Regions from separate parts of the Homo sapiens genome. Here all the other regions are linked to region 3. Evidence: promoter capture Hi-C in human tissues and cell types (Jung and others, 2019). All regions are on one chromosome and are shown on one strand. Each heading gives the region's core, a stretch centred on a gene start or on the middle of the fragment in contact. The rest is flanking DNA. Distances are from core to core; before and after follow the strand shown.

The links. Contacts are between HindIII fragments. The study calls those that stand out against the background at their distance.
Region 1: a fragment that was not itself captured here is called in contact with the fragment with the promoter of SNURF in region 3 in 1 of the 25 tissues and cell types used here (dorsolateral prefrontal cortex).
Region 2: a fragment that was not itself captured here is called in contact with the fragment with the promoter of SNURF in region 3 in 1 of the 25 tissues and cell types used here (dorsolateral prefrontal cortex).

The regions. Positions count from the first base shown.
Region 1 is chr15:25,405,522-25,408,720 of GRCh38, forward strand. The region is part of intron 3 of UBE3A (ubiquitin protein ligase E3A); the gene reads right to left. The region is part of intron 147 of SNHG14 (small nucleolar RNA host gene 14); the gene reads left to right. Among named protein-coding and RNA genes, the nearest start is that of UBE3A, 32 kb to the right of the region's middle. The HindIII fragment of the contact is 3,743 bases long and covers 1-3,199 here.
Region 2 is chr15:25,424,057-25,427,230 of GRCh38, forward strand. All of the region lies in intron 1 of UBE3A (ubiquitin protein ligase E3A), which reads right to left. Among named protein-coding and RNA genes, the nearest start is that of UBE3A, 13 kb to the right of the region's middle. The HindIII fragment of the contact is 5,028 bases long and covers 1-3,174 here.
Region 3 is chr15:24,953,438-24,956,955 of GRCh38, forward strand. It overlaps SNURF (SNRPN upstream open reading frame), which reads left to right and starts at 1,550. Exons shown (of 3, transcript NM_001394334.1): 1 at 1,550-1,625. The coding sequence starts at 1,612. It overlaps SNRPN (small nuclear ribonucleoprotein polypeptide N), which reads left to right and starts at 1,550. Exons shown (of 10, transcript NM_003097.6): 1 at 1,550-1,625. The region is part of intron 4 of SNHG14 (small nucleolar RNA host gene 14); the gene reads left to right. RefSeq lists enhancers at 1,965-2,530, 2,531-3,096, 2,921-3,080, 3,097-3,518, 3,351-3,400. The HindIII fragment of the contact is 13,657 bases long and covers 1-3,518 here.

The sequences.
Region 1 (3,199 bases), core at 135-2,634, 450 kb after region 3:
AACAGTTAGCAAAATATTCCATATTCCAAAAAAAAAGGTAGACATATTACTTAGGAAGACAATTTTGTAAACAAGATTTAAGCACTAAATAAAACAGTTTTAAAATTAAAGATGTCAACATGAAAGAAAGTGGTCAGATCAGGTGGCCATACAACACATTTATTTTAAGGGTTGGACTATTAAAAAACTCAATGCATGTTTTTTAAAGGAAACTGTAAACGCTATACATAGATACCAACAGACAAGCCATTATAAGCCATAATTATTCACAAAGTCAAATACGTGTAATAAAACACACAACTAAAAAACTTCCTATAGCCAAGTATTGGTTATCCACATTAACAAAGGTACTCACTGGTATTCACTCACAGTATTAAACTTTAGATTAGTGGCTCAGTAAACTACTCCCTAGGCAGACAGACTAAAGCTTAGGCCAGCCATGTAGTTTTGTAAATGAAGTTTTATTGGGATGCAGCCATACTCATTCATTTAGGTATCATCTATGGCTGCTTTCACACTAAAAGAACAGAGCTGAGGACTTGTGGCAGAAACCACATGGCCCATAAAGCCTAAAATATTTATTTTCTGGCCCTTTAAGAACAAATGTGCCAACCGCTACCGCTACTCCAGACAATTCAAACTAAAATCTAATACCTTGGTAAGTTTAAAGACACTTAAATCAGATACAACATTCTAATGATGATTATCTTGGTTCAACAATGAAACTGTTTCCCTAAAAATACACTTACTGTATGTATTACCTGTCAAAAGTGTATCACCTGAGGTGAAGTTTTGCACTGGATAGCTGTGAATTAACTTCAGTTTTAAACAGTTGCCAGTTACTTTGTTATTTCTAAATATACTACTGCTCTCTCATGTAGAAATATTTAAAATTCTAAGTCACTAAAAAGCCTTTCATTTTCATTTCACGAGATATGAATCAGTATTTCCCTATCTATTCACTTTTATAAACAGCATCAGCAACAATGAATGAGTCAATATAATATTGATTTCTAACACTTAGAAATTCCCAAACTAGATAAAAAATGTTTTTTGAGGTCAAAAGCTAAATTTTCAAATTGGCATTACAAAGTCCTGATTTGTGAACTTCTCACTGACTTTAGGCTTCCAACTTTAAGCAACTCTAACAAGAATCTTAAAATCAGTCACACACACACACACACACACACACACGCACACACACAAACCTGTTTTCTAAATTTCTTAGCTAAAAACAAAAACAAAAACAAAAAACAACCCCTCACTTCTTTATCAGACTCTCAAAATTACCCTCACTGCAATTCATTCAGATTCCAAGGACAAGAATGGAAAAGGAAAAAAAAAAAAAAAAAAGACTCCAGCAGCTCAAATATTTATTTTAGATCTTCTTTGCAATGTATTTAAATTTTCAATTTTGCACAAAATTACATAACAACTAAAAACTGGGGCATGCTGGAGGTGGCAGTGACTTGGCTGTGACACAAATGCAAAAATTTCACTCCACCCTCTCCCCCAGGGAGCAAGCAAATCACCTATGTGACACACCTGGTCTCCACCAGCCTTGTGGGTAAGTACCCCAAGATTGCTTCCAAACTTGTATCTCCCAGACAGAAGAGCTAAAAATTGATGATAACCCCATGTACCAGCTGACTCATTTTTGAAAGTGCGACCCTCCAGCATCAGATGTCATACTGTAAGGAGGCAGAGCTGGCTTGCAAAACAAAAAATAAACCTGCTGGCACTGAGGGAAGAGAGGCAGATTAGAAGTTTTCAAACACGTAGGCAGCAAAACTTTCAAAATTAACAGGGAAAGAGAAGAGAGGGAAAAAATGAGGACATGATGATAGGAAAATAAAAATATTACTGCAAAAAGGTAAGACACAAGAAGAAAAACAAATCTAAGTCTTAGAAGTACAATATGTAACTGTTACAAAGTTTTGAGATCCTGAAATGGGATAGAGTTTAAATACATTATCAAATGATAACTACATCTATCTTCCCAATTTCTGTTCCCTAAGCAAGAGAATATGTGAACTTTGGCATCAAAATGTTTGCCACCAAACTGTAACATATTAATTACTACTTTTTACATATATTAAAGTAGGCTATTAAAAACCATTGATAAGACAAGCTAAGTAATTTAAACCAATCCAGTATAGAAGAAGAAGGATTGAAAGATTATTACCTTAAAATAAATCTGTCCTGGGTCTATTAAACATAGCAAAGTTGTTCTACTCAAATTGGAAATTGTTTTTTAATCAAGAGAAAAATGAATATATGCAGAACTAGCAGACATTTTTCTTGCAGTAATTTATAATAGTTTCTGTCTGAATGAATTTCTACTCATCCTAATAACAGTATATTTCTAGAATATTATAAATAAGTTACCAAAGTCCCGAGGTTAGAATTCAAACTCTCAAAACTATGACATATGCCAGGTGTGGTAGTTCATGTCTGTAATCTCAGCACTTTGGGAGGTCAAGACATAAGGACCACTTGAGCTCAGGAGTTCAAGGTCAACCTGGGCAACATGATGAAACCTCGTCTCTTAGCCGGGTGTGGTGGTGGGTGCCTTTAGTCCCAGCAACTTGGGAGGCTGAGGTGGGAGGGTCACTTGAGCCCAGAAGGTCAAAGTTGCAGTGAACTGTGATCGTGCCACTGCACTCCAGCCTGGGCGATGGAGTGAGACCTTGTCTTGGAAACAAACATAAACTATGAAATATATACCACCTAGCAACAGTTCCCAAGCTTGACTTTGGCTCCTAAAGAGTCTACTTATTCTTTTACTGCCAAGTTGCTGGAAGTAAGAATCCTGTATGTGCTTGTAAATGCAGAACATATAACCTAATTCAAAACATATAACCAAAGGGAAATTTTTGTATTAAACTATTGACTTAGGTTATCCTAAAGTGTGTCAGAATAACAAGTCAGAAATTTTAAAACTGAAACAATAACCAAATAACATTGGATAATAAAATGTAAATCTCAGAATGAGAATCAATTTTAGGTCTTGATTTGAATCGCAGAAAATATGATCACAAAACACCCACTAATCTGAATACTGCAGCATGAGCTAGCAAATTCAAATGGTGGCTCACTTCCAATAACACTGGTGCAGCTTCTCCATCCTGCAAGCCACTCCTTTTACCTCCACTGTAACTCTCTAGGAGAGAAAAGTATACTAGTTTTATTAATGTTA
Region 2 (3,174 bases), core at 224-2,723, 470 kb after region 3:
TGCTAAACATAAGTCATACTTTTTCACTACTCTGCTCAAAGACTTCCAATAGCTTCCCATCTCACTTATAGGTAAAAATCAAACACCTTATTATGATCAAAATATCTGTACCCTCCATTCTCTCTATTTCCCATCAATTACTTTTCTAAAGCTACACTGGCCACACCTCGAGTTCTTCAAACACATCAGGCACTCTCACTTTGGGGTTTCCCTATTCACTACACTCTGCCTGAAATGCTCTTCCCCCAAATATCCACATGGCTAGCTCTCTCATCTCCCTCAGTTCTTCACCCAAGTTACCATTTCAGTGAAGTTTTCTCTACCTACCCTATCTAAAATTTCCCATCATCCTTTTCACCTGCAAACACTTCCCTTATTTGTTTCTTCTCCTTAGCACTATGTAACATATATTTTACCTATCTTTATGATCTCTTTTTAGGATTTAAGTGCCATGAAAGCAAAGGACTGAGTGGGTTTTATACACTGCTGTCTCTACCAGGACCTAGAAAAAAAGGCCCACTACACAGTAGGTGTTCAAGAAATGTTTACTAAGTGAATCAGATGGATGTGTATGTAGCCAACCATTTGAAAGATTCCTATAACACAGTTAAGAGGAAAAAAAAATTATATGAAACACAAGTTTTAGTACACAAAAATCTATGCACAAGGAATTAAAAACCTGAAATGAAATTTTAAAAAATTCAATTTGCAATACCATCAAAACATAAAATTCTTAGAAATAAATTTTTAAAGTAATAAGTACAAGACCTGTATACTGAAAACTACAAAACATGAAAGAAATTAAAGAACACCTTAATAAATGGAAAGATATCCCATGCTCATGAATGAGAAGACAGTATTAAGGTAGCAATACTTCCCAAATAGACCTACAGATTCAACACAAATCCAAGTCCTATTAAAATCCCAGTTGCATTTTTTTGCAAGCTAACCCTAAAATTCTATGGAAATTTGAGAAACCCAGAGACCCAAAACAATTTTGAAAAAGAATAAGTTAGAATACTCACATTTCCTGGTTTCAAGACTTACTACAAAGCTACAGTAATCAAGAGTGTGTGTTACCCAAAAAAAACAGACATACATGTCAATGAACATACCTTGAAAATACCATGGTAAGTAAAAGAACCCACACACAAAAGGACACATACTGTATGATTCCCATTTATATGAAATATCCAGAATAAATAAATTCATAGAGACAAAGCAGATTAGTGGTTTCCAGAGGCCAGGAAAGAATGGGGAATGGCTGCTAACAGGTTAGGATTTATTTTGGGGATGATGAAAATGTTCTAAAATTCAATAGTGGTGATGGCTGCAGAACTGTGAATATACTAAAAACTTTAAAAGGGTGAATTTTATAGTATGTGAATTATCTCAATAAAGCTATTAACAGTTTTGAAAGTTAGAGAATATGTTTGGTAGGATTTTTTTTAAATACTGCCTCCCCAAAAGGAAAAAAGCTGTATGTATATCAGTACTTTTACAGCTATCTTACATTTTATATTTGATTGGTAATTTCCTTCCAGGCATTTTTTTCCCTCTACAGTTAAACACACTTAACAACTGTTAAGTTTTAGAATTGGCTATGAAGCGAAGAGAAACCTTTCATTTCTTCTTATACTTAAAAAAAAATAGCTTTTTATTTTTCTTTTCTGTATTTCCTCATCCTCAAAAATAGATTCTACACACCAATATTTGAGGGATGGTGGGGCAACTACCACAAAATACAAGAGGCTCTCTTCTGGAAATGTAAAAATGTTAGAATTCCTAGGAACTTTTCATGATTTATGAGCCTAACCTAACATTTAAAACTGAGCCCATGCTGGTAAATCTGGGCTACACAGTCATACATACATAGAACTCTGGAATCACAACACATCCACTGTGCACTGGAAGAGTACTGTAATCTCCTTCTAATGTGCACCTTGGCTCTCCCCTCCCTTGGGTTCTTTGAAATTTTTTTTTTAAATAAGGTATGTTTATTTCTTATTTACCTACTAACTACAGAAGGTAGACTCACAATGTGCCAATATTAAAATGTTATCATTCCTCATTAAAATATTTACTTAAGTGTTTTATTACATGACTTACCAGCAATGGAAGAATCTCATCTGAGAGTAGTTCTCAACTGTCATCTATGAAAATCTTTAGAAATACCAAATCATCAGAATTACTTTAATTTCCTGGCTTTTAATCATAAAGCATTCCTACTGGTCAACAATTCTACAATCTGAAAACAGGGACATCTGTACCATATAGTCCCAATGATTTATTATTCTGAAATTTTCCTCTGGGTTATTTTTACACTGTAATTAGAGTTCAAACTTCCATAGCGCCTAGCCTAAAATTAAACCCAGAATTATGCCAATTTATGCCTGCTATATATGCACACACAAAAGACTTATAATGCAATATACTAAAAGAACTAAAGGTAGGTGGGTTTTTCCTTGAAGGAATCATAGCTACATTATTTTCAAGTTTAATCTGTTACATTCACCTGCCTATCAAATAAATGTAGCACTTAAACGCATAAAACAAAATTTGATTTAGTGACAAAAAACCATTAGCTTCTAATTTAACTTCAAAACGCTTTTCAAAAAATCTACCCCATCTAATTCTAAGTGAACCAGACCACACTTGATAGAAAACTGTTGTTCTAAAAACCATACGTACTTAACACAAACAGTAAACATATGAGAACATTTAGTCTTCTATTAATGTCTTACAAAATATTTCAATGTGGCTGGTTATAATTTTTTTTTTTTTAAGGGACAGGGTCTGTCACCGCGGCTGGAGTGCAGTGGTGTGATAACAACTCACTGCAGCCTGGAACTCCAGGGTTCAAGCAATCCCCCCACCTCAGCCTCCCAAGCTGGGCTAATTTTATTTTTCATAGGGATAAGGTCTCACTTTGTTGCCCAGGCTGGTCTCCAATTCGTGGCCTCAAGTGACTCTCTCACCTCTGCCTTATATTTCCGTTTGAGCTGTTATTATCAACTGGAGTAACATTTCTAGTTGGGGAAAAAAGAACTGATCCTTATCTGTAGATGAACACTTATACATTCAGCACTTACAAATAACTGAATGTGGGCATGAAAAAAAGAATGACAGATGATAAACATTTACTGTTCTCAAAATAAATTACCTAATCTCAGT
Region 3 (3,518 bases), core at 300-2,799:
CTCAGCCTCCCGAGTAGCTAAGATTACAGGCATGTGCCATCACGCCCAGCTAATTTTTCTGTTTTTTGTAGAGATGGGTTTCACCATGTTGGCCAGGATGGTCTCGATCTCCTGACCTCGTGATCTGCCCACCTCGGCCTCCCAAAGTGCTGGGAATACAGGCGTAAGCCACTGTGCCCAGCCTACATTTTATTTTTCGATTGACTCCCGTGATCAGAGTCAACTTCCCATGTTATTTTATGTGAATATGTATCAATGAACTATTAGAAATTGCAATGTTTTTGTAGGTCAAAACAATTCAATATTGACAATTTTATATGATTCAGCCTAATACATCATTTTTTCCATCAGCCATATTGCATGTTATTATTTATATATACGTTTATTTAGTTAGCCTATCTGTTCTCTGTGAGGAACATTACACAGTTTCTGAGATTTTGTTACGATAGAAGTCAGCATTGATAAGCCTCTGCGCACCTGTTTTAATGTAGGATCATTGGGAACTGAGCAGTAGCTTACAGGGCTTGGGAGGGGATTTAACCATTTAGTCAACCTCCACTCACATCACCCTCCCTTCTTCGATAATGGGCAATTGAGAAAGGGCAAATGTGTGTAAAAACTATGCAGATGCAGTTTCAGGATTATTTTCTTCTTTTCTGCAGTGTCTTTTCCCAAGCTACATCAGCGTCTAAATTTTGGAGTTACTGATGCTTCCGTTATTTCTGCAGATAGAATATTATGTCGTAAATAATGTTTACTTGTCCATTAGTATTATATAAAAGTGCCTGTTTCTCCCCACTCCAGCTATCATTGATTATTGGTAAAAATTTTAATGTATCCAATTCTAATAGGCAAAGAAAGGCTCTCCTACTTAGATCTTAGGTGGGGGTCTAAGTTCATATTTTTGTTTTACAAAAATTGAATAGCCAGTGTTTTTGAGTTGAATGATCTATCCATTCCGTATAGGAGAGTTTAATTATATTGTGATTTTGGGGGAGATAATTTTCACAATTTACCCCCTCAAAATGTAGAAAGTAGAAAAAGGGTAGAAAAATCGCACCAAATTTGAACAATGTAGCATGCTTTTAGAGTTAGGGATATTTTCTTTTGGAAGGATTTCAAGTCTGGCGTATTTGCATTGATTGTGGTTATGGCGCATTTAACTTTTCCAAACCAGCTTTTTTGTACCGCACATAGGAAGACCTGAGGGTGAGTGTAAATTAGGATTGTTTGGCCAGTGGTGTGTGCAAAAATTTATTGTAGAACCAAGAATTATTTCTTTAGTATTTTACACATTTTAAAAAACAGGTAGACATGTCCATTGATCCCAGGTTGCTTATGGTTTCTAGAGGCCCCCTCTCATTGCAACAGTGCTGTGGGGCCCTAGGGGTCCAGTAGCCCCCTCCCCCCAGGTCATTCCGGTGAGGGAGGGAGCTGGGACCCCTGCACTGCGGCAAACAAGCACGCCTGCGCGGCCGCAGAGGCAGGCTGGCGCGCATGCTCAGGCGGGGATGTGTGCGAAGCCTGCCGCTGCTGCAGCGAGTCTGGCGCAGAGTGGAGCGGCCGCCGGAGATGCCTGACGCATCTGTCTGAGGAGCGGTCAGTGACGCGATGGAGCGGGCAAGGTCAGCTGTGCCGGTGGCTTCTCTCAAGAGACAGCCTGGGGAGCGGCCACTTTTATTCATCAGATATTCCAAGTTTTTAGGACTTGGAGTACTGAATAAACGGAATTTGGGCCCTAAAGTCCTTTGTTCTGGAGAACCAGATCCGGAATGTTCAGAGGCTTGCTGTTGTGCCGTTCTGCCCCGATGGTATCCTGTCCGCTCGCATTGGGGCGCGTCCCCCATCCGCCCCCAACTGTGGTGTCGCGACAGGTCCTATTGCGGGTGTCTGCGGTGGGAAGGGCGGTGGTGACTGGGAGCATGCGGGGTAACCGCAGTGGGCAAGGGACATGGGTGGAGGTGGGTACATCAGGGTGATTGCAGTTCCGTGTGGCGAGGGTACGTGGGGGGACCAGTGCATAGGGATTTTAGGCGGAGGTAGGTATATTGGAGTGATTGTGGCGGGGCGAAGGTACGTGAAGTGATCGGTATTTAGGGGGTGTTGAGCGCAGGTAGGTGTATAATAGTGACCACTGCGTGGTGGAGCAGGGTACGTGGGGCGACTGGGGGGGGAATTCGTCGCAGTGACCGAGGCGAGGAGGCTATGGCAGTGGACCAGGGGGATGAGTCGGTGTGACAGTGGTGGGGGTTGTGTTGGTGGTCGCGGCGCGGGGAGAGTCCGTAGGAAGTGGCTGGGAGGTAGGGGGAAGGCGGCGACAGTGGGTATTGGCGGCGGTGGGCATTGGCAGCGGGTAGGCATGGCGGTGGTGGACTTTGGCGGCGGTAGGCATGGCGGCGGTGGGCATGGCATGGAGGCGGTGGGCATGGCGGCCGCGGGGCCTGTCGCTGTCCGGAGTGACTAAGGGACGCTGAATGATTGCTGTGTAGAGGAGGGGGCATCAGAAGGGGCAGTAGCACAGTCCGCAGCCTTTAATTTTCCTGTGACCTGCGATGGTCATCTGGTTTGCCTACTGTGGTGGTGGTGCTTTTTTATTAAAACTGCGCAATGCCTACACTGCCGCAGGGGCTGCAGAAATGCGTGGAATCCTTGCGTACCCTTTAGGAACCCTCGCTTTAGAGGCTATGGCATAAGAAGACTGGAATGATGTGCAGAACTTGCATTTACAGATCTTTTGACTGATAGGCCAGGTGATGCCTGGGGGTTACTTTTTTTTCATTGTTTCTCTCTGTTGGGAACCAGGTCTTGGAAGGCTATGTCGAAATAACCTGGGGGTCTGTGTTGCGTCACTGCCATTGTGCAGCTCCTTCAAGATGGCCGCCGCTGCAGCGGCTTAGATCTGCGCAAGCGCTTCAGCGGGGGGGTGGCCGCTTCCTCCCTGTAGAGCCGCCAGTGGGGAGGGGGCAGGTGGTGTGTGTTCAGCTTCTGCTGTTTCGGAGTTTCAGCCGTACCCTCTTTAGGGTGCAGTGGTAAGGAGAGGAAGCCGGCCAAGGTGGGCGGCTGCCCCCTCCCCAAAGTGCTGCTTGGGAAAGGATGCAGGTTGCGCAGACGCAGCAGAGGTGACAGTCGCCTCCGCTTGCAGTGGGGCGAGACGTGGGGCAGGGGAGCGAGGGCTTACGCAGCTTTTGCCTGGAAGGAATGGCAGCCCTCCCCTTCACCTGGCTGATACAGCAGCTGTTCCTTTCCGGTTGTGGCGCAGTAGAGGGGGGAGGAGGGAGATGGGTTGGCGCAGGCTCCGCCTAGCAAGCTTGGCAGCCACCCCTTACCCACGGTGCAGCAGTAGAGGACTGGAGGGGAATGTGGCTAGAGGCCAGGCATTTGTACCACCTCCGCCTGTGTGGGATGGCAGCTGCACTGGGCTACTGCTTTTCAGCTCTGCAGTAAACTAGAGTGGTGGCGGCCTGGAGGCCATCAAAGGTGCAGCCACCCCAAGACCTGCTGTGCTGTTTCAGCAAGCC